Regions from separate parts of the Homo sapiens genome. Here regions 2, 3, 4, 5 and 6 are each linked to region 1. Evidence: promoter capture Hi-C in 16 types of primary human blood cells and fetal thymus (Javierre and others, 2016). All regions are on one chromosome and are shown on one strand. The core of a region is centred on a gene start or on the middle of the fragment in contact, and the rest is flanking DNA. Distances in the headings are between cores, read along the strand shown.

Evidence for each region. Contacts are between HindIII fragments. The CHiCAGO score rates a contact against its expected background, and 5 or more counts as called.
Region 2: a contact is called between a fragment that was not itself captured here and the fragment with the promoter of BEAN1 in region 1, in 16 of 17 cell types (total B cells, naive B cells, total CD8 T cells and 13 more). The highest score is 22.0, in total B cells.
Region 3: a fragment that was not itself captured here is called in contact with the fragment with the promoter of BEAN1 in region 1 in 16 of 17 cell types (total B cells, naive B cells, total CD8 T cells and 13 more); the score reaches 19.6 in total B cells.
Region 4: a contact is called between a fragment that was not itself captured here and the fragment with the promoter of BEAN1 in region 1, in 7 of 17 cell types (total B cells, naive B cells, naive CD8 T cells and 4 more). The highest score is 9.7, in total B cells.
Region 5: a contact is called between a fragment that was not itself captured here and the fragment with the promoter of BEAN1 in region 1, in 8 of 17 cell types (total B cells, total CD8 T cells, naive CD8 T cells and 5 more). The highest score is 7.8, in total B cells.
Region 6: a contact is called between a fragment that was not itself captured here and the fragment with the promoter of BEAN1 in region 1, in 13 of 17 cell types (total B cells, total CD4 T cells, activated CD4 T cells and 10 more). The highest score is 10.3, in total B cells.

The regions. Positions count from the first base shown.
Region 1 is chr16:66,426,045-66,431,034 of GRCh38, reverse strand. It overlaps BEAN1 (brain expressed associated with NEDD4 1), which reads right to left and starts at 3,740. Exons shown (of 5, transcript NM_001178020.3): 1 at 3,604-3,740. RefSeq lists an enhancer at 2,312-2,912. The HindIII fragment of the contact is 13,321 bases long and covers 1-4,990 here.
Region 2 is chr16:66,578,801-66,583,847 of GRCh38, reverse strand. CMTM2 (CKLF like MARVEL transmembrane domain containing 2) reads right to left here and starts at 4,385. Exons shown (of 4, transcript NM_144673.3): 1 at 3,956-4,385; 2 at 3,664-3,822. The coding sequence starts at 4,240. CKLF-CMTM1 (CKLF-CMTM1 readthrough) reads right to left here. Exons shown (of 4, transcript NM_001204099.2): 4 at 4,713-5,017. The coding sequence ends at 4,847. CMTM1 (CKLF like MARVEL transmembrane domain containing 1) reads right to left here. Exons shown (of 4, transcript NM_052999.4): 4 at 4,713-5,017. The coding sequence ends at 4,847. The HindIII fragment of the contact is 685 bases long and covers 2,073-2,757 here.
Region 3 is chr16:66,627,026-66,631,918 of GRCh38, reverse strand. All of the region lies in intron 2 of CMTM4 (CKLF like MARVEL transmembrane domain containing 4), which reads left to right. Among named protein-coding and RNA genes, the nearest start is that of CMTM3, 25 kb to the right of the region's middle. The HindIII fragment of the contact is 3,499 bases long and covers 1-2,999 here.
Region 4 is chr16:66,664,391-66,669,032 of GRCh38, reverse strand. The region is part of intron 1 of CMTM4 (CKLF like MARVEL transmembrane domain containing 4); the gene reads left to right. Among named protein-coding and RNA genes, the nearest start is that of CMTM4, 30 kb to the left of the region's middle. The HindIII fragment of the contact is 4,749 bases long and covers 345-4,642 here.
Region 5 is chr16:66,557,395-66,562,219 of GRCh38, reverse strand. CKLF (chemokine like factor) reads right to left here. Exons shown (of 4, transcript NM_016951.4): 2 at 3,872-4,030. CKLF-CMTM1 (CKLF-CMTM1 readthrough) reads right to left here. Exons shown (of 4, transcript NM_001204099.2): 2 at 3,872-4,030. Among named protein-coding and RNA genes, the nearest start is that of CMTM1, 6.6 kb to the left of the region's middle. The HindIII fragment of the contact is 3,229 bases long and covers 1-2,894 here.
Region 6 is chr16:66,645,602-66,650,263 of GRCh38, reverse strand. All of the region lies in intron 1 of CMTM4 (CKLF like MARVEL transmembrane domain containing 4), which reads left to right. Among named protein-coding and RNA genes, the nearest start is that of CMTM3, 43 kb to the right of the region's middle. The HindIII fragment of the contact is 8,901 bases long and covers 1-4,662 here.

The sequences.
Region 1 (4,990 bases), core at 2,491-4,990:
TATCAAATTATCCTTGGCACTTGAGCAAGTCCTATTTGCCAAATATTTGAGGGAATGGTTTCTGCTATTAACTTAATGTTTTATTTTCAATCAACCTATACACTTGGCAAAAATAATAACAATAATAGACCATATGTTTGTAAAACACTTTATAATTTTGGAAGGCACAATAAGTGCTGGGTACTAGTCTAGGCTCTGAGGATATAGTGAACAAAACAGTCAAAAGTCCTTGTTCTTGCAGTGCTCACATTATATTGACGTGGGCATACAATAGACAAATGAATAAGATATATAGATGTTGGAGGTAATAAGTGCTCTAGAGAAAAATGGAGAGAAGAAGGATAGGTAATGAACAGGGAACTGCTCTTTTAAATCAGTTTGATTACTGTTCAAACAGGAAAACAAAATACGAAGGTGTCTAAAAATTCTATAGCCTGTGGACAATTAACATATTCTTTTTCAGTTCTCAGACATAAAATGATTGAAGATGTACATGAAAGAATCATTCTAATAACTGATTACATATCATCTAAATTACAATGTGGTAATTATCAGTTTTACAAACTCATACAATTAGGATGAGTCATAGTGATGTTTTAACTATTCTATACCTGGCAGAATTAGATAGTCCTTAAACGTTTCAAGCCTCAGTGTTCTCATCAATAAAATGGGAACAAGTATAGTTCCTAAATCAGAGAGCTGGTTATCAGAATTCAAAGAGAAAATGCATACGTTTAGGAAACAGCGTGTGTGCAATGCATGTTCACAATGTTGACACTGCAGGCCACTGGCAGAGGTCCACTGGACATGGCTATGTGCTATCTGTATATGATTTCTTCATCCTCACACTATTCTGGGAGGTGTGTAACATTTATTCCCATTTTCAAGAGGGAACTGAGGCTTTGAAAAATAAGTCACCTTCCCAGAACCACATGCTATAAACCCAGGCGGTCCAGCTCCAAAAAACTGCTCTCAGCCGTGACTCTTGTTTGTGCCTGCTTGCTAATGGACTGCAGAAGCCCTCCTGGCCTCAGTTTCTCCCTTTAGGAGGCTGACAGCAGATGCCCCTCACCCTATCCTCTGAGTACTTCCAGGGCAAGAGTTTCAGACAATGGTCCTCTGAGGGTGTCCGGCTGATTATTCCTAAAGCCTGACAGTAATGCCTGCATCCCCGTCACATTCCCCACTGGCTGTGTTCCAAATCCTGAGCGAAGCAGGAGACTCAAGCCTAATTAGTTCCTGATTAACTCCTTTGGGAAGATGAGGAGTGAGGATTTTGGAAGACACAGCGACGTGACCCCTAGTGGGTGAATGGGGAAGGGGAGGGGGAAGCTACAGAGGAAGAAGAGGAGAGAGGGAGATTCCGTGTAGGAGGCCCCAGGTGGCAGCTCATCTTGCCTGTCTTACCAGGTGTACCCTGGCACCATGTGGACATGTTTCCTCATCTGAGATTCCTCCCCCATCCCTGTTCTGGGCAGCTGGGCCAGAACACCCACACAGCACAGGTGGCCAGGGACCAACATGGGTGTGAACTGGACCACTGCTTTCTTCCCATCACTCCTGCCCGCCCACCCGCTCCTTGCCACCTCCAGGATCCCAGCATCCTCCCCTATCCCCTGGGCCTATGCCCTGCTCTGCTCTGGGTCTAAGGTCCCAGCCACACAGACTGGAGCAAATCCCTTCCTGGGGACACCCTGCTCTGAAGTTTGAACCTCTCAATCACTGGCTCCATTTCCTCCCCGACATCCTTCATTTCTGGTGCCTCATGGCCCAGTTGCCTGGACGAATACATCATAGTCTGCGAAGAATCAAGGCTGGGACCCCTCAGACCTCTAGGCTGTCTCCCTGGTGCTTCTTGCTGCCTGTCTGAACCGTCACCATCGGTGTGTCCAAGCCACCTGACAGCCTGATGGCTCCTCAGGGAAAGCAATCCTCCACCCGGGAGTGGAGGGAGGTGTTAAATTCCCTTGTACGGAGCTCGAGCAATGGGTGGGTGCCCCTCTCTGGGGCAGCGGACATCAGCTAAGGGCAAGGAGGAAAAGGGTGCACCTTACAGTCAGATGCAGCCTTTTCACCCTGGAGAGAGATGGGAGGTAGCAGGGGAGAACTGGGCTGGGCGGTAGAGAGCCTTGGAGGAGGGAGCGTCTGAGAAAGGGTGGGCCCTAAGGAGAAAGTTTTGCTTTGCAATTAAATGTCAACAGCTTGGGGAATTCAAAGGCCTCCTTGGAGGGGGCTGGGAGCACCACTTCAGATTCAGAGGCACTGAATCTCAGCATCTACTGGTGCTGGACACCTCAGGACACCTGTAGCCCACCACAATTGGCCACTGGCTGCGTGCCAGGCACCAGGCTACATACCCTCACCAGCATCATCTCATTTAATCCTCCCAACTCACCTTCCCCATGTTCCAGATGGGGAAACTAAGGCTCAGAGAGGTTTGTGTCTTGCTTAAGGTTGTACAGCCAGGAAGTCAGCCAAGCCCACCTTCTGGTTCCAAATCCCTTAAACATCCCGCTCACAACAGACTCCTGCTTACTTTCAGATGAGGAAACTGAGGCACAGGGTGGTGAAGTCTCTCGTTCCAGCAGAGCAGTTATGTTTGAGGAGTGAGTCCAGAGCGGCATGCTCTCGGCAGGGGCTCATCGGAAATCGTGGCTCAAGAGCAAGGATCCCTGAACCCCTGCCTCTCACACCAGTTACTTGCGCCCTCCCTTTCCCAGCCTGCGCCCCGCCACCCACGCCGGCACCCGCCCGAGATGGACAGGGCAGTCCCTGGTCCTCACCGCTCTCCAGCCTCCAGACCGCAGAGCCCGATAGGGAAGGAGGAAGGGCAGCGAGAGTCAGCCGGGTGTGGGGTGGGCCCTGCCCCTGGGGAGCGGCGGCGGTGCCACTCAGCGCTGCGCAGCCAGCCTGAGCTGCCTGCCGCCTCGCCTCGTACTCAGCCTCGGGTCCCTCTGACAGCGCAAGGGAAAGTCTGTCCCAAAGTGGGAGAAGGTGCGGAGGGCGCGCTCTCTCTCCGACGCTCGGTGCTGAGACAGAGGCACGGAGACAGGGGCATACCCCAGGCGACCTGCTCGTCGAAGGGTCAAACTTCCTAGCTCAAAGGGGTGCGGGTGGGTTCAAACTCCAAACTCCGTGAAGCCCCAGCCCCTTTCCTCTCCCACCCCGACCGAGAGTGCGCCCTAGTTTTCCCTTCTTGGTTGGGTTGTTCAGGGGTCCCCGAAACCGAGGGCAAGCTGCTGGGGAGGCTGTCTTGGGTTCCCCAAATGCGGTTGATGCTCGTCGGGGACTCGAGTCAGGCAGAAAACCTGGATACCTCCCCTTCCCCGAGGCCCGAGGGCGCGATCAGGGTCAGCCTCGGCTCGCGCAGATCCCAGTGGCCAGCCCGGGGTCGAGGGTCCGCGGGAGACCCGGGATCCCGCTCCGTTCCGAGCGCGCTGCGGTTCCGTTCCGGACCGCGCATCCGCCCGCCCCGCGCACCGAGGCTCCGCGCGGCGCGCCCCCGGGTGTGTCGTTCGCCGGTACCACCGCAGAGCGCGGGGGAATGGGGCCGGGACCCCCCGCCCGCCCCTCCCCCGCGCCGCCCAGCCCCACGCCCCTTACTCGGCTTGGCTGCAGCGCTCCGCTCCGTGCGCCGCAGTGCCGGCTCCAGCTTCGGCTCCAGCTCCGGTTCCCGCCCCGGCTCCGGCTCCCAGTCCGGTTCCCGCTCGGAGGCCACTGCGCTCGGGCTCGGGCGTCGCGGGGGGCGCGCCGCTACGCTTCGGCCTGCTGGGCGCGCAGGGGCGGGGCGGGGCGGGCCAGGCGGGGCCAGGCGAGCCGGGCCGACCAGCCGCCCGCGATCCCGGGCCGAGGCAGCGGCGGCGGCGGCTTCCCAGGCCCCGGCCCTGGCCCTGGCCCTGCCCTGCCGCAGCCCCGCCCGGCCGCCCGTCGTCCCCGCGCCGCCGCCCACGCCACCGTCACCGGCCCCGGCCCCCCTCGGCGGCGGCGCGGCTCCCGGGCCTCAGCACCGCGGCGCCGCGGCCCGGGTCACTCCGAGATGCGGGGCGGGGGGCGCGGGTGCGGGGGAGGGCCGAGCCGCGCCCCTTTGCGCACAGCCAGCCCGACACCCACACAGCAGCAGGCGGGGCAGGGCGGCGAGGAGGCCGGGAAATGCGGGAGGCCGACGCTCCAGTCAGACGTGTGAAGAGGACACACAGGCGTGTGTAGGGAATGACACACGGACGCGAGCGGGGAGCCACTGACACGTGCAGAGAAGGGTAGACAAACGAGGTGTCAGGGAAGGACAGCCAGACAGGTTGGACCGAGGCTAGGCTGGGCATTTGAGCAGGGGACCCCTGTCGCGGGCAAAGAGCAAAGTGCGGGATGGAGAGGGGGACCCAGCGTGGCTGGGCCGCTGGCAGGGGCAGGCGAGCCTGGCAGGGCTTCCCGCTCGCGGTTGCTGGCAGGTGAGTTTTGGGATTCCAGCTAGGCCTGGCCCAAACCTTCCTTCGGAGCCACCAGCAGGCCTGTTTCCTTCACCCCGTCACCCTCCCTGTGCCCCCGTTCCCCGCTGCCCAAACGTCAGGGCATAGGGCTCAGCCCTGGCAGGTGGAAGCCGGCCCCGAGGGGATGCCTGGCTCAGGCCGGGGTTCCAGGCTTCCAGGACCTGCTCTGTCCCCACCCTGCTTTGGGGCCTTGGACGAATCCCAGCCCATCTCTCAGGCCTCCCTGTCCTCATTAGGATATTGCTCCCAATGATTGCACCCCTACTGTGTTGGGGTGCTCGCCAGCGTGGAGGAGTTATTTATTTAACCTCCGCCACTTGCCTGGGAGCGCCAGGAGGGCAGCGTCTGGGTAGGGCTGCAGGGGTCTGCACAGAGTGGGCACTCAGTGAATTTGCTGCAGGAATTGATGAAATGTGTTGTTGCTAACACTCTCTGAACCACTACTGTTGATGAGGAAACTGGGGCTTAGGAGGCAAGGGGAGTCAAAAGCTGGGTTCGTTTCAAAA
Region 2 (5,047 bases), core at 1,166-3,665, 150 kb before region 1:
AAAGCTTTATGGTAAATCTGATATCTTGTTGGGTGAGTCCATCCTTGTTAGTATTTTTTCTTCTTTGATAAGAATTTTAGAATCACCTTGTAAAAGTGCCATGAAAAACCCATGTTAGGTTGAAATTTTATTTAATTTATAGATTAATTCAGAATTGAATTGACATCTCTATGATAAGTTTTCATATTTGTGAATGTGGAATGTTTCTCTATTTACATTTTCCTTTGATGTCCATTACTAAAGTCTTATAATCTCTATGTAGTGTCTTACACATCTTTCAGTAGGTTTATTCTTAGACACCTTGTAGTTTGTGTTGCTGTTTTAAGTGATTTCTTTTAAAGAGCATTTTTTTTTTTTTGAGACAGTCTCGCTCTGTCACCCAGGCTGGAGTGCAGTGGCTCCATCTCGGCTCATGGCAACCTCTGCCTCCTGGGTTCTAGCGATTTTCATGCCTCAGCCTCTCGAGTAGCTGGGATTACAGGCATGCACCTCCATGCCTGGTTAATTTTTGTATTTTTAGTAGAGCTGGTGTTTCACCATGTTGGCCAGGCTGGTCTGGAACTCCTGGCCTCAAGTGGTCCACCCACCTCGGCCTCCCAAAGTGCTGGGAGTACAGCTGTGAGCCCCCGTGCCCAGCCAAAAAAATCCTATGTTTCTCATTGTTCATTGTTGGTATTCAGGAACACTACTGCTTTTGTGTCTGGTAACCTTGTGGAACTCAATCAGTTCTAGTGATTTGACTGTAGATTCTCTTAGATTTTCTGTGTAGATAATTCTATTAGATTTTTCCTCTTGTCAATCTCTATACCTTTTGTTTTTCTTGTCATATTGAACTAAGGTCTCTATCACAATGTTGAATACAAGAGAAGCTAGTAAGCATCTCTAAGGAAATGCTCCTGAAGTGTCACCTAAAATACAATTTGTGCAGGTTTGGATAGATGTCTATTTTATTTTATTTTATTTATTTATTTTTTGAGATGGAGTCTCACTCTGTCGCCCAGGCTGGAGTGCAGTGGCACGATCTCGGCTCACTGCAAGCTCTGCCTCCCGGGTTCATGCCATTCTCCTGCCTCAGCCTCCTGAGAAGCTGGGACTACAGGCACACATCACTGTGCCTGGCTTCTTGACACCTCTTTTATTATTTTTTAGACAGGGTCTCACTCTGTCACTCAGATTGGAGTGCAGTGGCACCATCAGAGCTCTCTGTAGCCTTGACCTCCTGGGTTCAAGCCATCCTCCCACCTCAGCCTCCTGAGTAGCTGGAACAACAGGCATGTGCCACCATGCTTGGCTAATTTTTAAATTTTTTTGTAGAGACAGGGTCTCCCTATGTTGTCCAGTCTGGTCTCAAACTCCTGGACCAAAGGGACCCATCCACCTCAGCCTCCCAACGTGCTGGGATTACAGGTGTGAGCCACCACACCCAGCCCAACAACCACTGATGGATGTTCTCACTCATTGTTCTGTCTCAATCTCTTATTTTCTCTCTCTCTGTGTGCTGTGTTCTGGGTAATTTCCCCATACCTTTCAGTTAACAGTTCCCTCCTTCAGCTATGTCTGATCTGTTTTTGAATTCATCTATTGACATTTTTATTTCAATAACTATATTTTCTATTCTAGACACTGTACTTTTTAAAAATCTGTCTATTTTGTCCTCATAGTGTCTTACTCTTTTCTCAGGACTCTTATGTCTATAATCCCTTAAAATATATTATTATTTTCAGACAGCTCTTCTATTATCTCATATTCTCAGGATTCTAATCCATTTGTTGTGTTTGTTGATTCTTAGTAATGGGGATTTTTTAAAATCAGGTGTTTAGTAGTTTTGAATTATTAGTTCATTTTTGACAAGGTTTTCCCCCCACCCCCACTGTGAGAATCTCTTCATGCCTTGATTGTGATTTTGCATTTGTTTCTATCAGGAGTCCAAGGATATCAGCAGAATGTCATCAGACTGGGATCAGTTTTTATGGTAATTCCCAGGGATGAAGGTTTCTGGGCTGCATGAAGGTTTCTAGGCTGCAGATAACAAAAATTCAAACTCCAATCTGTACAAAGGGCAGGCTTAAGCTTTCTATTTCTCAAGGAAGACTTCCTCTCCGCCCACTCAAAGCTCAGGCAGAGATGAACATGTTTTCTTATTCCTCTGTGTTGGGAATAAGAAGGGTATGTGTCTTTGTCCATCTTTTCCCTAAGGAGGTAGTCTTTCCAGGGCGCTGGCTTTATACAGGGTTTTCAGTTCTAAATTCCCACTTTGCTTAGGATCAAGGCCTTATTTCCTGACTTGAGAGTGCATGAAAATCCAGGCTGTAGGTTCCTGAGACAATACCTCTTGGACCATTCCCACTCATACTTTGTAGCTTATGTGATCACTGCCCTGTTTGCCATTTCTGGCGCCTGTGTGTTTTCATTTCTTTTTTGCCAGCTCATTCATTCAGTTAAAGCAATACTGGTTACATTTCCCCTGGTATTTTTAGGTAAGCACAGTGGGAAGATGTTCAGGGTTCATTGGTTTTTCATCTTGCTGGAACTAAAAATGTCTTCTCAGGCTCCTTGTTTAGGAACTTGTCCTCTGCCTGTCCTTTTACCTTGTCCTCTGCTTGTCCCTTTTCTGAGAGTCCTTATTTGGCCCTCCTGTCCTTTCTCCCTGTATCGGAGGTCCTCATCTGCTTCACCAAGACCTCTGGATCCCTGGACCCTAATAGTTTTTAACAAGAAGGCAGGATGAAATGTACTCATAAAGCTAAGTTTGAAGCTTTTTTCTGCTACTTACCAGCTGAGTGACCTGGGGGCAAGTTACTTGGCCATTCTAGGCCAATTTCCTCATGTGTAACGTGAGTGAAACAGTGAACAAGAGGGCTCTGGAGGCAGGCTGTGAATGTGCAATGAACAAAGGGACTTGGGAATTGGGGTCTTCATTGACTGGCAAGGGGTTAGGTGGTTGTGCCCTGTGGTTAAACAGGTGATGGGCAGGGATTCAATTCCATGAGTCCTCAGGCACGGTGTCAAGCAATTTACATTTAATCCTCAGGATTGAATGTCAGTTCTGCAAGGAATGTGACTGTCTCATGTTACAGATGAGGAAACAGGCTGGGAATGGTTTAGTAACTTGCCCAGTTCTGTCTCTTTCCACTAGATGACTGCTTTGGGCTGAACATCCTTCTGATCCAAACATCCTTTATAGGGATATTCACTGGAGACCTAACGCTGCTTTAGAAGTGATTTTTAAAAAAAATTCCCATTTTGTTTTATTTTATTGACTTATGGGAGAGTAATTTTCTTCTTTGAATTTTGGGAATGGGGTCCTTCTGGGGTGATCTCCTGTCAAGTGTGAGCTGGCACAGGAGTTCGGAGGAACAGCTGGTTGCTACACCTCCCCTTCCCCTAAAGAGAACAAAGGCTCAGGCCCTCTTTGACCACCAGGTAAGTAAGAGTTCCCCACTCTCACTCCAACACACAGATAGGCTTTTTGGAGCATTTTCTGCCTAGCTACCCCTCTTGCACCCAGCTGCCTCTGCCTGGGCCCCACTGATGTTCTGAGTCCCTGACCCAGGCACAGATATGGGAGGTGAGGTGTGTCTCTCTGTTTGGTGACTTTCCAGGTGCCAAGACACACCTGATCAGCATTCTGGATGCAGGCACTCCCCATCACCCCTTACTTACAGAAATGGGCCACAGGATGAAGGGTATGTATCTATGAATGGCAAAGCTGTACAGTAAGATGAAGAAGCTGAAGAAGGATATCTCCATGGTGATGATAAGCCTCAAGATGGGGTGCACGGTGAGTGAGGACAACAGTATCATTGCAGCTATTAGGCAGCCCTGCAGTGAGACATAGACACCTGAGCCAGCAGCAAGGGCCTTTCACCATCTCTCTGAGGACCCCTGGAGCCTACTCCTCCTTCCCCCCACCCTCGGCCAAGGCCCCCCACCCAGGGATACCAGTTTAGCTCACCAAACTCCGAATCTTGATCTCAGCGTGCCCCAAGAGCCAGAACTCTTTATTGCTGTCTTTTAATTCCCACCGGTAGCGGCGACACCCCCTCCTCGTGCCCACTTCGTGCTTGGGCTGCACCGCCTTTTGAGGTTTGTCCGATGGCTCCTTATGGTCCTGCACCGCCTTTTGAGGTTTGTCCGATGGCTCCTTACCGTCCTTCTTGTCTTCCTCGGGTTTGGCCCCGGGTGGAGGTGGAGCTGGTGCTGGCTCTGGCTTGGCCCCCTTTGCCGCCTTAGGTGCCATGACTGACTCGGTGTCCTTGGCTTCTCACAGCTGGCCTGTTTCTTCTCTCTCCTGCTGTTTCTGGGTAGGCCAGGCCTACTAGAGTGCCTGGTGTCCACCGAGCGGCTCAGAGGGCGTGCTCAGCTAACTGCCAGGACCACCGAATGCCAACTCCCGCGCCCTCTCCACGCGCGCCCGTCTCCTCGCGCAGCTCCCATCCGCCCGGCAGCGGCCGGATCCTCCCACCCTCCACGCGCCGGCCCCCGACGGGCCCCAACTCCGTTCCCAACCCGCCGGTCCCACCTCCGCGCGGAGCTGCCCTCGCGGTCCCATCCCGGCGTCTCCAGGTGGCCCCAGGTCTGTAAGCCGCCGCTCCGCTGCGGGGTCGGGGGGCTGCGAGCACCGGGTCACGGCCCTGAGCTCCGCGGGCGCAGCGCCAAGCGCAGGAAAATACAACGCGACTTTCACACAAGGCAACGAGAGGAAGCAGGTGTTCTCGATAAAAGCAGCAGCCCTAATTTTATGGTCACATTTAGGCTGGAATGGGTGACAGCATGCGAGCTCGGGGGTGGGCTCGGAGGCAGCGATTCGACAGACACGTGCATCTGCTAGGGCGCCGGGCTGGCTTCAGGCGGGCCTCTGCGGGGCGTCGGGGCCGGTTTCGGGGTAGGCGTCCTTGGCGGGGGAAAGCTTCCTTTCAACTTCGACTCCCAGGAATCTTTTCAAGTTGGTCCTCATCTTCGTGGTGACCACAAACGCATCGATGCAACACACGATTACCGCTGTGAGACACAGGGACTGTCAGATACAAGACCATATGCGGGAAGG
Region 3 (4,893 bases), core at 1-2,500, 200 kb before region 1:
TCTTGGGTGTTTCTCGCAGAGGGGGATTTGGCAGGGTCATAGGACAATAGTGGAGGGAAGGTCAGCAGATACACAAGTGAACAAAGGTCTCTGGTTTTCCTACGCAGAGGACCCTGTGGCCTTCCGCAGTGTTTGTGTCCCTGGGTACTTGAGATTAGGGAGTGGTGATGACTCTTAAGGAGCATGTTGCCTTCAAGCATCTGTTTAACAAAGCACATCTTGCACCGCCCTTAATCCATTTAACCCTGAGTGGACACAGCACATGTTTCAGAGAGCACAGGGTTGGGGGTAAGGTCATAGATCAACAGGATCCCAAGGCAGAAGAATTTTTCTTAGTACAGAACAAAATGAAAAGTCTCCCAAGTCTACTTCTTTCTACACAGACACAGCAACCATCCGATTTCTCAGTCTTTTCCCCACCTTTCCCCCTTTTCTATTCCACAACACTGCCATTGTCATCATGGCCCGTTCTCAATGAGCTGTTGGGTACACCTCCCTGACGGGGTGGTGGCCGGGCAGAGGGGCTCCTCACTTCCCAGTAGGGGCGGCCGGGCAGAGGCGCCCCTCACCTCCCGGACGGGGCGGCTGGCCGGGCGGGGGCTGACCCCCCACCTCCCTCCCGGACCGGGCGGCTGGCCGGGCGGGGGGCTGACCCCCCACCTCCCTCCTGGACGGGGCGGCTGGCCGGGCGGGGGGCTGACCCCCCACCTCCCTCCCGGACAGGGCGGCTGGCCGGGCGGGGGCTGACCCCCACCTCCCTCCCGGACGGGGTGGCTGCCGGGCAGAGACGCTCCTCACTTCCCAGATGGGGTGGCTGCTGGGTGGAGGGGCTCCTCACTTCTCAGATGGGGTGGCCGCCGGGCGGAGGGGCTCCTCACTTCTCAGATGGGGCGGCCGCCGGGCGGAGGGTCTCCTCACTTCTCAGACGGGGCAGCTGGGCAGAGACGCTCCTCACCTCCCAGATGGGGTCGCGGCCAGGCAGAGGCGCTCCTCACATCCCAGACGGGGCGGCGGGGCAGAGGCGCTCCCCACATCTCAGACGATGGGCGGCCGGGCAGAGACGCTCCTCACTTCCTAGATGGGATGGCGGCCGGGCAGAGATGCTCCTCACTTTCCAGACTGGGCAGCCAGGCAGAGGGGCTCCTCACATCCCAGACGATGGGCGGCCGGGCAGAGGCTGCAATCTCAGCACTTTGGGAGGCCAAGGCTGGCGGCTGGGAGGTGGAGGTTGTAGCGAGCCGAGATCACGCCACTGCACTCCAGCCTGGGCACCATTGAGCACTGAGTGAACGAGACTCCGTCTGCAATCCCGGCACCTCGGGAGGCCGAGGCTGGCGGATCACTCGCGGTTAGGAGCTGGAGACCAGCCCGGCCAACACAGCAAAACCCCGTCTCCACCAAAAAATACGAAAACCAGTCAGGCGTGGCGGCGCGCGCCTGCAATCCCAGGCACTCGGCAGGCTGAGGCAGGAGAATCAGGCAGGGAGGTTGCATTGAGCCCAGATGGCAGCAGTACAGTCCAGCTTCGGCTCGGCATCAGAGGGAGACCGTGGAAAGAGAGGGAGAGGGAGACTGTGGGGAGAGGGAGAGGGAGGGGGGAGGGGGAGGGTGAGGGGGAGGGGGAGAGGGAGAGGGAAAGTCTTGTGTTTTTTTTTTTCTGACACCAAATACATTTTCCACACCAAGCTGTTCTGTAATCCTTTGACACTGACTGGGTGTTTAACAATTCCGTTCAATTCTGACACTAACTCTCGGAGTTAGCACAGATCCCACAGACGAGGGCCCAGTCCCACAAGATGGCCCCACTTTAGACACCAGCTGCAAAAGGGGTGCCCAGGCACTTCTGTCTGGCTGAGTACAGATTCGATGGTTTCCACCACCCCTCAGGTTCAGTCATTTTCTGCAGTGACTCACAGGACTCAGGAAGGGGCTTTACTTAAACAATTACTGATATGTTTTAAACGATACAACTCAGGAACAGCCACATGGGAGAGATGCATAGGGTGAGGTCTGGAGGGCCTCAGATGCAGGAGCCTCTGTCCTTATGGAGTCAGAATGAGCTCCACTCAGAAGCTCCCCAGACCCCATCGTTCAGGTATTTTTTCTGGAGATTTCACTAGGTAGGCATGACTGATTGGCCATTTGGTGATTGAACTCAATGTCCAGCTCCTCTAACTTCCCTGGAGGTCCAGGGGATGGGGCTGAAAATTCCAACTCTCTAATCACCTGGCTGGTTTTTCTGGTGACCTGCCCCTATCCTGAAACTGTCTACCACCCTCTTCCCACAAAAGTCACTTCGTTAGCATAAACTCGGGTATGATTGAAAGGGACTCATTATGAATAACAAAAGATGCTCATATCACTCAAGAGATTCAAGGATTTGATTAAATATTTTTCATTATAGCACACTCATTCTTTCTGGGACCCAGTTTCCTCATCCATGAAAGTAGAGCAAAATAACAAGTCCTGTCTTGTGGGCATTTTGGATCATAATTAGGTTAGAATTCACTGGGAGCGATATGATTGGCACAGTGACTCCATAGATGGTAGCTGCTACTGTCATCAACATTATAATTGTCCCTTTGATCCTGGGGCCATTCAAGCACAAGTGAGTGCAAAGGATGGGTCGAGTGCTTGCAAACGTTCTTGTCTCCTGGATGGATAGGACAGAGGCTAGAGCCAGCCACCTAGCACATTGGTTTGGGGGCCAACCAGGATTGCAGTGACAGCCCCCAGCTGATTCTGTGTACAAATATTTCATTTGTGATCAGTTCAGCCTTGATTTGTTTCATGGCCCAGGAACTCAAGTGCTTGATGCTGACTTAAGATTTGCAGTATTCCAGTATTAAGCCTTTCAAGTTGTGTGAGTAATAAGTGCTTATTGTAAAACAAAACAAAACAAAACAACAAAAAAACCCCAAAAACTAGAAGATAATAGATAATTTAAAAAAAATCATCTGATGACCCAAGAGAAATGAAAACTTGTTCACACAAAAGCTTGTAGGTTCATAGCTACATTATCTATAATAACCAAAAAGTAGAAATAAATGTCCATCAACTGATGAAGGATAAATAACGTGGTGTATCTATACAATGGAATATTATTCAGTAATAAAAAGGAATGAGTACTGATACATGCTACAACATGAATAAACCTTAGAACCATTATACTAAGTGGAAGATGTAGGGGAAAAAAAGAGAGATCAGACTGTTACTGTGTCTATGTAGAAAGGGAAGACATAAGAAATTCCATTTTTACCTGTACCTTGAACAATTGCTTTGCTGAGATGCTGTTAATTTGTAACTTTGCCCCAGCCACTTTGCCCCAACCTTGAGCTCACAAAAACATGTGTTGTATGGAATCAAGGTTTAAGGCATCTAGGGCTGTGCAGGACGTGCCTTGTTAACAAAATGTTTACAAGCAGTATGCTTGGTAAAAGTCATCGCCATTCTCTAGTCTCAATAAACCAGGGGCACAACGCACTGCTAAAAGCCACAGGGACCTCTGCCTTGGAAAGCCGGGTATTGTCCAAGGTTTCTCCCCGTGAGATAGTCTGAAATACAGCCTCATGGGATGAAAAAGACCTGACCGTCCCCCAGCCCGACACCCGTAAAGGGTCTGTGCTGAGGAGGATTAGTAAAAGAGGAAGGCCTCTTGCAGTTGAGATAGAGAAAGGCCACTGTCTCCTGCCTGCCCCTGGGAACGGAATGTCTCGGTATAAAACCTGATTGTACATTTGTTCAATTCTGAGATAGGAGAAAAACCGCCCTATGGCGGGAGGCGAGACATGTTGGCAGCAATGTTGCCTTGTTATTCTTTACTCCACTGAGATGTTTGGGCAGAGAGAAACATAAATCTGGCCTACGTGCACATCCAGACATAGTACCTCCCCTTGAACTTAATTATGACATAGATTCCTTTGCTCACATGTTTTTTTTGCTGACCTTCTCCCTATTATCATCCTGTTCTCCTACCGCATTCCTCTTGCTGAGATAATGAAAATAATAATCAATAAAAACAGAGAACTCAGAGACCGGTGCCGGGGCAGGTCCTTGGTATGCTGAGTGCCGGTCTCCTGGGCCCACTGTTGTTTCTCTATGCTTTGTCTCTGTGTCTTACTTCTTTTCTCAGTCTCTCGTCCCACCTGACGAGATATCCCACTGGTGTGGAGGGGCAGGCCACGCCTTCAGAAGAGGCCAGGCACAAAGCACATGTTATGTCATTCTATTTGTATGAAATGTCCAGAATATTTGTGGCAGATTTCACACACAGGAAAAAAAAAATGTCCAGAATAGGCAAATCCATAGAGACAGAAAGCAGATTGGTGGTTGCTTAGGGTTGGGGGAGGAATGAGAAATAACTGCTAATGCGTATGAGGCTTTTTTTGGAGTGCTAAAAATGTTCTAAAATTACATTGTGATTGAATTATATACTTTAATTGGGTATATGTTATGGTATGTGAATTATATCTCAATAAAGCTGTTTAAAAATACGTGATATGACCCAATGAAGGGTAACCACTTAAAATACTTGAGTATAAATCCTTCTAAACTGTTCTCTCTAGACAGTCTTTTGCGTATGCATGTGTGTTGTGATATGTGAGTGCAGAAAAATGGAACCATTAAAATCATGCTTTTTCATTTAAATTATTGTACCTTACATGTTAAATATATAACTACGTGATTATTTTTAATGACTGCATAGTGTTCCATTATGGAAATACCATTTTATTGAACAACTCCCCTATTGAGCACTTTGTTTGCTTCCTTATACTTAGACCTTTTTGCCTTATATCATTTATTTATTTATTTTTTTGAGACAGAGTCTCACGCTGTCCCCCAGGCTGCAGTGCAGAGGCGCAGTCTCCGCTCACTGCAGCCTCGACCTCCTGG
Region 4 (4,642 bases), core at 1,470-3,969, 240 kb before region 1:
TACCATTTTTTTCTGTGAATGTAGGTTTTTATCTCACTGGGGTTAATACCCAGGAGTGAAATTGCTGGGTCATAGAGTACGTGTTTCACTGTACAGGAAACAGCTAAGCAGTTTTCCAGCGTAGCTATACCATTTTGTATTCTTCCCAGCAGTACATGGGAGTTCCAGTCGCTCTGCCTCTTGGCTAGCCCTTCATAGTCCTTTTTTTTAAAGCTGTTGTAATATTCTTTTTGTTGACGCAGATGAGAAATTAATTTTATTAGGAATAATATAAAGAAATAAATACCAGCAAGTTTCTCAACTCTTCAAAACTCATGGTGATTTTAAGGTAATAGTCAAAAGCTTATTTAGGGACAGTGAAGTGTTGTCATCTGTTTTCCTCAGAGATCCTAAAATATATGACATTCTAGATTTCCAAGTTCAACAATTCAAATCTTACTCATAATATTATGACACTTTAAAGTTATCCAGATTTTATTACATTCCAAATGCCAAAAATGAGGAGTTAAATCAAATTATGTATATTTACTTTAGGATCAACAAAAAATTTTAGTATATTCTAAGAATAGTAAAGAAAAAGCAAAAACATGGACAGATATTTCCAAAAACAATCCATAAGTTCTGTGGTCATAGCAACTCTACAAAACACCAGCAAGGCATCAGAATGGCCATAAGCAGAACTTAGTTTGTATAGAATCAAGCATACAAACCAACCAGAAAATGGGGCTGGGCATGGTGGTTCATGCCTGTAATCCCAGCACTCTGGGGGGCTGAGGTGGGAGGATCACTTGAGTCCAGGAATTTGAGACCAGCCTGGGCAACATAGCGAAACTCTGTCTTTACACAAAATTAAAAAAAAAAAAAAAATAGCTCTGTTGGTGGTGTGACCTGTAGTCCTAGCTACTCAGGAGGCTGAGGTGGGAGGACCCTTGAGCTGAGCAGTTGGAGGCTTCAGTGAGCAATAATTCTGCCACTGTACTCCAACCTGGGTGACAGTGAGACCCTGTCTCTCAAAAACCAAAAGCAAAACAAACAAACAAAAAACTCACAAAAAAAACAAAAAAACAGGGAAAAGTTTTGGTTCATATAAAGCAAAGAAAACAGAAGAAATATTATTTCCAAAGATGGTAACTACTTTTTTTTTTGAGACAGAGTCTCGCCCTATCAGCCAGGTTGGAGTGCAGTGGTGTGATCACGGCTCACTGCAACCTCTGCCTCCTGGTTCAAGCGATTCTCCTGCCTCAGCCTCCTAAATAGCTGGGATTACAGGCACACACCACAACACCTGGCTAATTTTTTGGATCTTTAGTAGAGACGGGGTTTCACCATGTTGACCAGGCTGGTCTTGAGCTTCTGACCTCGTGATCTGCCCACCTCGGCCTCCCAAAGTGCCGGGGTTACAGGCATGAGCCACCGCACTCGGCCCTTTTTTCTTTTTTAAACTTTGTAAAGTTCATATGTTAATATCAAAAGGTAATGTAAGGGAAGCTGATATGCATTTTGAACTGTGTGTAAATGCATCTTATGTATGTAGGTGTGATATTACATATGACGACACATTTCTACAAAGAAAATGGAGTCATTTAATATCACAACCTGAAATGTAGTACATAGCAGGTCCCTAGTTCATTGCTTTATAAAACCTTCACGTTTGTTATTTTATTTTACAACTTTTATTTTTTTATTTTTTATTTTATTTTATTTTTTTGAGAGGGAGTCTTGCTCTGGTGCCCAGGCTGGAGTGCTGTGGTGCCATCTCAGCTCACTGTAGCTTCTGCCTCCCAGGTTCCAGCGATTCTCCTTCCTTAGCCTCCCGGGTAGCTGGGATTACAGGCATGTGTCACCACACCCAGCAAATTTTTGTATTTTTAGCAGAGATGGGATTTTGCCATGTTGGCCAGGCTGGTCTCGACCTCCCGACCTCAGGTGATCCGCCTGCCTCGGCCTCCCAAAGTGTTAGGATTACAGGCGTAAGCCGCTGTGCCCGGCCCCAACTTTTATTTTAGATACAGGGGGTACATGTGCAGGTTTGTTACGTGGGTATATTGCACCCAGGTAGTGAACATAGTACCTGATAGGTAGTTTTTCCACCCATTCCTCACTCCCTCCCTCCCTCCAAGTAATCAGAGGTGTCTGTTGTTTCCGTGTTTATGTCCACAGGAGTTTAATGTTTAGGTCTCACTTATAAGTGAAAACGTGGTATTTGGTTTTCTGTTTCTGTGTTAATTTACTTAGGATTATGGCCTCCAGCTCCATCCATGTTGCTGCAAAGGGCATGATCTCATTCTTTTTTATGACTGCCATTGTAACATTCTAATAGGTGTGTAGTGGCATCTCATAATAGCTTTATTTTGCATTTCCCTAAAATGGCTAATGATATCAAGCATTTTGTGCTTATTTGCCATCTCTTAGGTGAAGAACCTGTTCAAGTAATTTTTATTGGGCAGTTTGTTTTCTTACTATTGAATTTTGAGAATTCTTTATATACTTTGGATACAAGACTTTTGTCAGATACGTGAGTTGCAAATATTTTAACTCTGTGGCTTGTCTTCTTCTTTTTTATTTTATTTTATTTTTTTTGAGACAGAGTCTTGCTCTGTCGCCCAGGCTGGAGTGCAGTGGCGTGATCTCGGCTCACTGCCAGCTCTGCCTCCTGGGTTCACGCCATTCTCCTGCCTCAGCCTCCTGAGTAGCTGGGACTACAGGCGCCCGCCATGACGCCTGGCTAATTTTTTTGTATTTTTAGTAGAGACGGGGTTTCACCGTGTTAGTCAGGATGGTCTCGATCTCCTGACCTTGTGATCCGCCTGCCTCGGCCTCCCAAAGTGCTGGGATTACAGGCGTGAGCCACCGCACCTGGCCTGTCTTATTTTCTTAACAATTTCCTTTGCAGAACAAGTTTCTTTCTTTCTTTCTCTTTCTTTCCTTTTCCTTTCCTTTCCTTTCTTTTCTGTTTTTTTTGAGACAGAGTCTCACTCTGTCGCCCAGGCTGGAGTGCAGTGGTGCAATCTCCGCTCACTGCAACCTCCGTTTCCTGGGTTCAAGCCATTCTCCTGCCTGAGCCTCCCAAGTAGCTGGGATTACAGGTGTGTGCCATGATGCCCTGCTAATTTTTTGTGTGTTTTTAGTAGAGACGGGTTTTTGCCATGTTGGCCAGGCTGGTCTCGAACTCCTAACCTCAAGTGATCCACCTGCTTCAGCCTCCCAAAGTGCTGGGATTACAGGCATGAGCCACCATGCCTGGCCTTTTTTTCTGAGACAGAGTCTCGCTCTGTCTCACCCAGGCTGGAGCGTGGTAGCATAATCTCTGCTTACTGCAGCCTCTGCCTCCTGGGTTCAAGTGATTCTCCTGTCTCAGCCTCCTGGGTTCAAGTGATTCTCCTGTCTCAGCCTCCCGAGTAGCTGGGACTACAGGCATGTACCACCACACCCAGCTAGTTTTGTATTTTTAGTAGAGATGGGGTTTCATTGTGTTGGCTAGGCTGGTCTTGAACTCCTGACTTCAGGTGATCTGCCTGCCTGGGCCTCCCAAAGTGTTGGGATTACAGGTGTGAGCCACCGTGCCCAGACCAAGTTTCTAATTTTGAAGAAATTTTATCCATTTTTTTTCTCATGGATTATGCTTCTGGTGTCATGTCTAAAAACTATTCTCAGCTTATAAAGATTTTATCCTATGTGTTCTTCTGAATTTTATTGTTTAACATTTTACATTTAGATCTATGATCCCTTTTGAATTAATTAAATTTTTTTTTTTTTTTTTTTTTTTTTTTAAGAAACAGGGTCTTGGCCAGGCATGGTGGCTCATGCCTGTAATCCTAGCACTTTGGGAGGCTGAGGTGGATGGATTGCTTGAGGTCAGGAGTTCGAGACCAGCCTGGACAACGTGGCAAAACCCTGTCTCTACAAAAAAATACCAAAACAATTAGCTGGGCATGGTGGCATGTAACTGTAATTCTAGCTGCTAGGGAGGCTGAGGTGGAAGGATCACTTGAGCCCGGTAGGTCAAGGCTGCACTGAGCTGTGATTGCACCACTGTACTCCAGGGCTACAGAGGGAGACTCTCTCTCGGAGAAACAGGGTTTTGCTCTGTCACCCAGGCTGGCCTTGAACTCCTGGCCTCAAGGCAATCCTCCTGCTTTGGCCTCCCAAAGTGCTGGGATTACAGGTGTGAGCCACCATGTCCTGCCTATATTTAATGTAATTATTAGTATGCTTAAATTTAAACCTACCATTTTGTTATTTATTTTCTGTTTGTTCCCTCTGTTTTGTTCCTGTTTTCCCTTTCCTCTTTTCTTTTGGAGTCTTTGAATATTTGTTAGTATTTCATTATAATTGATTTATTGAGTTTTGACTAGTATCTCTTTATATAGTTTTTTTTTTAAGTGTTTGGTCTACGAATTACATTATACATACACATAATTATAACATTAATATTGTACACTTTACTTATAATTAACATTTCATTACTTAGAATGAAATACAGAAACCTTGCAAGTACATAGGTCCCTTTACCCTCCTACTTTGTTTTCGTTGTCAAATACATTGAAATCCCAACATTGTTACAGATTTTGCTCTTAACCATCATGCATACTTGAAATAACTCGAGAAGAATTGTATATTATGTTTACCGAGGTTTTTACCA
Region 5 (4,825 bases), core at 31-2,530, 130 kb before region 1:
CCAGCTACTTGGGAGGCTGAGGCAGGAGAATTGCTTGAAGCCAGGAGACGGAGATTGCAGTGAGCCAAGATTGCACCACTGCATTCCAGCCTGGTGGAATTTTTTTTACTCCGTCTCAAAAAAAAAAAGGCAATTAATAAAACTTAAAATAGCACACACTTAAGAGAAAGTGGTAATTTTCAGGAAACCCCCACAGACATCTCTATGCAATGGATGACCAATTATGTTATTATTGCTGATGATATAGCTCATTCGCTTAATACTTTTACAAAGTAAAAATCAGTTTCATTCTTAACTGTGATGTCAAGAAGTGCAATTTTACATTTTTAAAATGGATGTGTAGCGTGGGAAAGGTAAACTGTCTAGCTGAGAAAGGTTTATGTATGTTTGCAGATAACCACAGGCAGGAAGGAATAACCCAAATAGCAAACTGCAAAACCCTGGTAATTTAGAAAAGCAGTTATTAGAAAGAAAGTAGGAACAGGTTCAATGGGGGTAGGGCAAGATCAGATATACTTAGGAAGAAAAAAGTTCTCATTTGTAGGAGATACTGAGACAACTATTCTAGGTTAACTCTCTTCTGTGTTGGATATTTGCTCTGCTTCAAAAGGCAACAGACCACACTCCTACTTCAGACAGGCAGCCTGCCTCCTGTGAGCAATCTGGGCAAGGGTTTATAGATGGCTTTGGATCAAAGTGGTGTTCTAGGGAGTGCAGAGAACCACAGGGGGAAAAAAAAAGATATGCCTGCCCCGAAACACCAATGATCCTCAAGAGTAATTTAGACCATTTATTTTATATTAAAAATGAAAACATCTATATGCCACAGAGTAGAATGTAAACTTAATTACAAAAATAGGGATTTCAAAGGAATTCTGAGCCTATGCTTAGATACCTCCTCAAAGCCATGGGTTGACTGGCTTTTTGTGTTTTCTGTCATTTGGGGCTCTCGGGGGGGAACAATCAGAGAAGGCCTGCTCTACAGACTGTTATCAGGGACAACAACTTTGGGACAATTTGAATGGAGATGACCAAGCCCTCTCCTAGTTAGCAAAGGCAGTGGCTAGCAGATGGAGGTACTTCTAAGTTACCTTTTCCCCACCTACAGATTAATTGGAACAGTCAGCCATCTCTGTGTCCTACACTTTAGGTAACATCCCCAGGCAACTTCTCCACCTGTGCTCTGGCTCCAATTCTACTCTGCAGGGACCTCACTCTATTCATTACTTTTATTTGTCCCTGGCCATATTTCCTCAGTTCAGAGATGACCCCTCTAGTTGTCTCTTTCCTTGCCTGCTCAGTCCTACAACTTTCCTGTCACTTGCCCACTGGAGGCAAACTCCTCTGGAAAAGGTCACCAGGGGGCAGAGAGAGAGAGAAAGTGTGTGTGTGTGTGTGTGTGTGTGTGTGTGTGTGTGTGTATACTTATCTTTCTGTTTAAATGTGTCCATTCTTCTTGAAATGTATTCCCATCTTGGCTTCGGTGACACCAGTCACACTTGGGTGCTCTCCTGCCTTTTCTGGCCACTCCTCATCTCATATGTTGGCGTTTCCCAGTTTTACCTTCAGCTCTCTCTACACTCTCTCTGAGCTATTGTGGCCAGTCCGAGCTCAGTTAATATCACGAGGTGATGATTCCTAAAACGGCAGCTCTAGCTCCTCTTAAGTTTCACACCATTTCTGAATATCTCCATATGAATATCTTTTAAGTAACTAAAATCTAGTATTTATCAAGCTAAACTCATTACATACTGCTCTCCTGCACCCTTCCTTAAACATATTCTTCCTCTCTCAGTATCCTCTCAAGACATGGAGGCTGATCATCTGATCATGCTACTCTCCTACTTAAAAACCTCCAAAAACTCCCATTAGCCTTTGGGTTAAAGTCCACAGCACACAAACCCTTGTATGCCCTGACCCTGTTTTCACAAACCTCACTCTTGCCCCAGCTCTTGTTCACAACTCAATACCCAACCATTCAGATACACCTGCAGGTCCTGGAGGGTCATGCTCTTTCTCCACCTAGACCCTCACATATGCTGCTGCTTTTCTAGCAGAAAAGCACTTTCCCTTCCCTGTATCAGTCATCTGCTAACTACGTTTCATCCTTCAGCCCTCAGTTTGGGCACTTTTTCTTCACAGCCTACTGTGACTTGGTCCCTTTCCCTTGCTGGGTTGCATCCACGCCATCCTAGGTGTATATCTCTCATAGCACCTATATTCTCTGTGTTGCTTCCTGGGTGCATTTAAAGTTTCTGAGGTACAAGGTTTTTGTTTTGTCTTAACCAAAGAACCAATTACAGAATCTAGGATTAGCAAATACTTAACATTTGCTGAATAAATAATTTCATTAGATCAAGATCAGAAAGGATTCTGGGTTTCGTAATGGAGCAAAAACTTAGTTACCCATATAACACCCCATTTCTAAGAGATACAATATCAGTAAAGTTTGATCCTTAGAGATTTGGGGACTATTCCTTTCAGTGTGCTACATATAAGCTACTCTCTCTCAGTGTATTCTGTTACACTCCTGGCTCCCAGTTTATTACTGGGACATGTAAGAAACTCCAAGGAATTATGTTTGGAAAAAAAGAAAGGCTAAAATGTGTTAGTTTTATTAAACTCTAGAGAAGCAGAGTGTGAAAAGCAACTATACAAGACCTAGAGGATGTGGACCAGTGTTCATTATCCTCTTGAAGAAATCTTTAGAAAAATTTAGTTTAACCCTTTCTGCCACTAAATGAGGGCCAACTGAGGAAGACTTTGTAATCTCTTCTCCTAGACCTCCCTCCAACGAAGTCCAGCTCTGAAGTGTACATCAAGTAGTTTTGAGAGGAGAGGTTCTATGAAGATCCTATTTCCCAGCTTTTCCCTTTTAGGACTTTTAAAAAGCTTATGATTTGCCTGAAATGCTTGCCACTGGCCTTGAAGGTGGTTCCAGAAGGTACCATTTAAAGGCATGCTTATGGTTTAAGAATAGCTCTAAAGTCTTTTCTTGTTAATAGGAATTATCAGCTTGGATATTAGCACTGTGGCATCCAAGAGGATGAGACCACTGCAGCCAAGGAAGACATGGCAGCAATCAGTCCAGCCAAAGAGGAGAAGGGCAGCAGGGGGATTCAGGAGGGAGACCTACAGAGACAGGATGCTGGGAATGAGACTTGCAAGAGGACAGAGGAGAAGTCACTCAGTTTTTCTTAGAATCAGCTTCTAGTCCAGGCTGAGGGGCTGCATACATCTTAACGAATAACTTCAATCTGCCCAATTTGACAGTTTTCAGAACCATCTGGGCATTCCACTGGGCAGTTATTCCTAATTATATGAGTATGGCAGGTTACAGTCTATATACTATGAAATATAAGAGGTGCCAACATTATTTAGTAATAACTACAGATATTTTCAAGTGAGATAACATTGTACTTTAGCCTCCCCAATTAGTTTGATTTTCCATTTAGTGACCAAAGATGTGCAAGGATAGATACTTGTGTATCTGTCTCCATCTCTATCCCAATTTTGAGGCCATATTAACATGCATCCAAATAGGTAATAAAGATTAAGAATGCACTACAATTTTGTTAACATGGTCCTAAATTTAAATTTCTTTAGAAGATCTATCCAAGTGAATTCTAACAGAAGCGTCAGCCACATCTACTGATAGATGGTGCAGAGAACTTATGCTCTGTGGCTGCCCTGCATCCTTGAGACCCTCTCCCAAAGCAATACAGGGCACATTAGCAATGGGTAGAGCTCCTCCTTCCTAAGCCTAACAGAGATTACCTTAAAGGTTTAAGAGAAGCAAAAAACAGAGTTCATTAGAATATCTCACTATGGTAGGAAAAAGTAAAATTTAAGGATGAAACTGAACACTTACAAGCAAAGGCCAAAATAACCACTTCATTAATCGATCAAGTCTGAGTACATATAAAAGTATGAAAAATAAGATAACGGTGACTTCAAATCCAGTGATAACAATATATGGTTCAGGGGCTTGTGCGATGATAAAAAAGGTCATAGATGTCACAGTTAGTGCCTAGAAGAAAAAAACCCACGATTTATTCAGTGACAACTGAATACAAATTTAAACTGTAAAAATGACAATTTCTAAAATAATAGGCTGGGCACAGTGGGTCATGCCTATAATCCCAGCATTTTGGGAGGCTGAGGTAGGAGGATCGCTTGAAGCTAGGAGTTCAAGACCAGCCTGGGCAACATAAGGAGACCTCATCTCCAAATAAACAAAAATAACCAGATACTGGGGTTTCTGCCATATACACACACATATAAAACAGCCATGCCTAAAGTGTATGATATTGACTTCTCTTTGTCTTTTAGAGGACTGGGTATTCCTCTCTGTTTTAAGTCCAATTAATTATTCCTCTTGTGCTTCTGACACTATCACTTCCCACATCAGTTCTCTTGATGTTTTTCCACCAAGTACCTCCGTTCCCCCTTGTACTTTCAATCTGTCCTCTGCTAGCTCCTTTTCTCATCATCCTAGAAACATCTCAGTTGTGTTCTTTTAAAATACACACACACATACTCCTTCCTTTTATCCTGCTCCCCACAGAAACCCTTGTTCTGTTTTCTACTGTTGTTATGCTTCTTCAAAAAGTCTGTATACTGGCTGTCTATAATTTCTTACCATCCATTTATCACTCCTTAATTCTTAACAATCTGGAGTCTACTGTCAGATTTAAACTTAGAATGCTGCCATGAAAAATACTGAGGAGCAAAGTTCAAAACAAATTGTCAGGGTGGGCGCGGTGGCTCATGCCTGTAATCCCAGCACTTTGGGAGGCCAAGGCAGGCAGATCGCCTGAGGTCA
Region 6 (4,662 bases), core at 1,069-3,568, 220 kb before region 1:
GAGGCACTTTGGTGAGGAACTAGGTTGTATCCCAACCTTCCACCCACCTCCAGCCAACCAAGGAACACATCTTGAAAGTTAGGCACCATCTCACACAAATGTTCTCTCCCGTTTTTCCTCTAAGACCACCTGAGTTTGGTGTTGACTGGGAAGCCTCCTAAAGCCTCTGCTGCTGCCTAAGCCCTCATTGACCCTCCCTCTTCCAAATCCCAGCAGCACTTTTTGTCTCGATACCTCCCTGGGCACCGAGCCACGCACCTGGTTAGTTCTTTTTGTGTATAATAGCGTGTGTTGGCTGGACTGGAACTGAGACCTTAAGCACAGAGAGTCTCCAAGTGCCACAAAACGATCAGGGTTGAGGGAGAAGTTGTCTGGCCTCACCCTGTTTGCCTGGGGCGTGGCCTTTCTTATACATGTCTGTGATCCTGACATGTACAGGGATTAGGGGCCCTGAAAGAAGCCATACTCAGGAGAGGAGGGCAGCAGACGAGTGCCAGTGAGAGCCCTGCCCCTGCCCCCCATGAGGAGGGAGTCGGGCTCTGGACCTGACTCATGTTCATAGGAGGGTGTGAACCCAGTGCAAGGCTGAGGTTGAGCCCAGGCTTAGGGAGTGGGGAGGCTGCTGAGGACGGACCATACCTGCTCCCACTGTGGAGTCTGCAGGACACCAGGTGATATAAGTCATGATTAAATTGGGATATACTCTTCAATAGATTTGAAATGACCTGTCATGGAAATAATGCATATATTAGGAAGAAAAAAAATCAGGGATAGATAGATAGATAGATAGATAGATAGATAGATGGATAGATAGAGAGAAGGAATCAAGACCAAAAGAAAAAAGCAGCATATTTGCTCCCTAAGGAGCTTGTTCACCAATGCATCCCTAGAGTTAGGATCGTGCCTGGCATGTAGTAGATCCTCAGTTAATTTTAGCTGAATAAAGGGATGGTACTTGCCTAAATACTACTTTAAAAAAAAAATGGACTTTTAAAACATAAAGGCAAATGTCCACACCCACCTCAGGAACTTTTTCTTTTTTTAAGAGACAGGGTCTCACGCTATTGCTGGGACTGTAGTGCAGTGGCTATTACACAGCCATGATCATAGCTCACGGTAGGCAGCCTCAAACTCCTGGGCACAGGCGATCCTCCTGCCTAGGCCTCCTGGGTAGCTAGGACTACAGGTGTGCACCACTGTGCCCAGCAACCTCAGTCACTGTTTAGAACATAGTGTCTGGGGGCTAAGATTTCTCTTTTCTTTTCTTTTCCTTTTCCTTTTCTTTTCTTTTTTTGACAGAGTCTCGCTCTGTCAGCCAGGCTGGAGTGCAGTGGAATGATCTTGGCTCACTGTAACCTCTGCCTTTTGGGTTCAAGCGATTCTCCTGCCTCAGCTTCCTGAGTAGCTGGGATTATAGGCCTGCGCTACCACACCCAGCTAGTTTTTGTATTTTTAGTAGAGATGGGGTTTCACCATGTTGGCCAGGCTGGTCTTGAACTCCTGACCTCAGGTGATCAGCCTGCTTCAGCCTCCCAAAGTGTTGAGATGACAGGCGTGAGCCACCGTGCTCGGCCTGGGGGCTGAGATTTATTTCTTTTTTTTTTTGAGACGGAGTTTCATTCTTGTTGCCCAGGCCGGAGTGCAATGGCGTGATCTCGGCTCACTGCAGCCTCCGCCTCCCGGGTTCAAGCGATTCTTCTGTCTCAGCCTCCTGAGTAGCTGAGATTATAGGCATGCGCCACCAGGCCCAGCTAATTTTATATTTTTAGCAGAGATGGGGTTTCACCATGTTGGTCAGGCTGGTCTTGAACTCCTGACCTCAGTTGATCCACCAGCCTCGGCCTCCCAAAGTGCTAAGATTTCTTAAGATATTAATGATGAGGAAAAACTCAGATCCAGGAAAAATATTTTCATTCCCAAACAGATGAAGGCACCATCCTCGTAGCAGTTGGGAAAAGCAAGAATACTAGGTAGTAACAACCAAGGTTCATTTTTCTGCTTACTCTTTCTAGCCCATGTGTCCTCACTGCTGGTAGAGCAGCTACATTTCAGAGCTTGCTGGGCACTGTGGTGAAGGGAGGTCTCTGGAACATCTCATACTGGCAACAAAGTCTTCCACCTGAAAGTGATGCACTTGGCAGCTCATTAGCCAGAAGTAGTCTTGTGGCCCCACACAAATTCAAAGGATGCGGGGAAGGTGCTGGATGGTGGAGAACCACAAATATTTGGCAGCCAGCATTAATGACTCCTACAACCCTAATGACAGCTGTCTTTTATAGGATGAGAGTTGCTTTGGATTCAAGTGAATACAGACAAAGTGCATTTAAAGCAGTGGGTCACCATCACTGTAAATAAAAATACCACTTTTATCAAATGATTTCACAACTTCTCTCACACAGATGTCTAATGAGTAATCAAAGAACAGCAAAGCTGGGTGTGGTGGCGTGCACCTGTAATCCCAGCTACTCGGGAGGCTGAGGTGGGAGGATCTCTTGAGCCAGGAGTTTGAGTCCAGCCTGGGCAACATAGTGAGACTCATTTTTTTTTAAAAAAAGAAAGAACAATAGTTTGAAGTTAGGTTCTCTGGTGTTTTGTGTGGGTGATTAAGGCTGGATCCTGAACTTCTCTGAGTAGCACTCAGAGAGATAGATGTTCACATTCCTCATTTGCTCTTTTGTCCAACTTCTTCCCCAGTCTCCTCACAGTTGGCCCTGCGCACACCTTCCTTACCCCCAATGGTGTATCAGAAGCAATGCTCACGTATTTCTAGGTGATGTCATAGATTGCTTTTTTAGATGGAAAAACAGGGTAAGTTTTTGACTTCTCAGATGACTGACAAGATTAAATCTGGACTAAAAAGAGAACTTTCTTTTGTGAAAACAGGCTATAATTGTGAAGCCTGTGTACTTTTTAAAAGGACTTTTTTTTTTTTTTTTTTTTGAGACAGAGTCTCGCACTGTTGCCCAAGCTGGAGTGCAGTGGCATGATCTCGGCTCACTGTAACCTCCGCCTCCCCATTTCAAGCGATTCTCCTGCCTCAGCCTCCTGAGTAGCTGGGACTACAGGCACCTGCCACCACACCCGACTACTTTTTTGTATTTTTTTTTTTTTTAGTAGAGGCGGGGTTTCACCGTATTAGCCAGGATAGTCTTGATCTCCTGACTTCATGATCCACCCACCTCGGCCTCCCAAAGTGTTGGGATTGCAGGTGTGAGCCACTGCACCTGGTCAAAAGGGCTTTTAAAAAGTCCTGACCAGGCTGGGCGTGGTGGGTCACGCCTGTAATCCCAGCACTTTGGGAGGCCGAAGTGGGTAGATCACCTGAGGTCAGGAGTTCGAGACCATCCTGGCCAACGTGGTGAAACCCTGTCTCTACTAAAAATACAAAAATTAGCCGGGTGTGGTGGTGCACACCTATAATCCCAGCTACTCAGGAGGCTGAGGCAGGAGAATCGTTTGAACCCAGGAGGTGGAGGTTGCAGTGAGCCAAGATCGCACCATTGCACTTCAGCCTGGGTAACACAGCGAGACTGTGTCCCAAAAAAAAAAAAAAAAATTCATGAATGGTTTCAAAACAAGTAAGGATTGGTTCTTAGAGGTCACTAAAATTTAACTCATAACCTGGATGTTTCAAAAAAGTGTCCATACATAGGGCATTTAATTTTTTTTTCTAATTAAAAACACATATACTCTTTGTAGAAATTTTGGAACATGAAAGCGGGCTCAATGAAAATAAACCTATCCACATTTCTACCATATAGATGGGTTTACTATCAATATTTTACTATAGATTCTTCCTGAATCTATAATATATACATGTGATATATTTACATACATGCAGTTATATACAATGTGTACATATATGTGTATATATTATATGCATGTATTATAAATACATATATGTATGAATATGTATATTTCTTACATATTCAAACACGACAGGAGTGTTAATTAAAAAAGGTAAAATCTCTGTGATTCCCCTGTTCCCCACCTAATCCTAATCCATAGAGAGGTATTGATTTTTTACTGTTTAGCTTAAATCCTTCAATGCACATAAATGTGTTTGTAAACACAAATATGCTTATTTTTTGTTCTTCACCAAAAATGGGGTCACTTTATGCCTTGTGTGCTGTACTCTGTTCTTTCTCTAAGTATCCCTTGGACCCTTTCCCCGCCAGTCCACAGAATCCCCCATCTCTCTGCCTTGTGTTTCTTACTGTATGTAGATGTGCTGTTGTTTATTCACCATGGCTCTCCTGCTTTGTTTGTTTGTTTGTTTGTTTTTGAGACAGAGTCTCGCTCTGTCGCCCAGGCTGGAGTACAGTGGCGCAATCTCAGCTCACTGTGACCTCCACTTCCTGGGTTCAAGTGATTCTCCTGCCTCAGCCTCCCGAGTAGCTGTGATTACAGGCGCCCACCACCACACTCGGCTAATTTTTGTATTTTTAGTAAAGACAGGGTTTCACGATATAGGTCAGGCTGGTCTCGAACTCCTGACCTCAGGTGATCCAGCTACCTAAGCCTCCCAAAGTGCTGGGATTACAGGCGTGAGCCACCACAGCCGGCCTGGTTACTTTTTAATACGACACACAGTGCAGCGTCATACATGTGCATTTATTCATAGGGTACATAGTCCTAGAATTTCTGGGTCTAAAGGTGTGC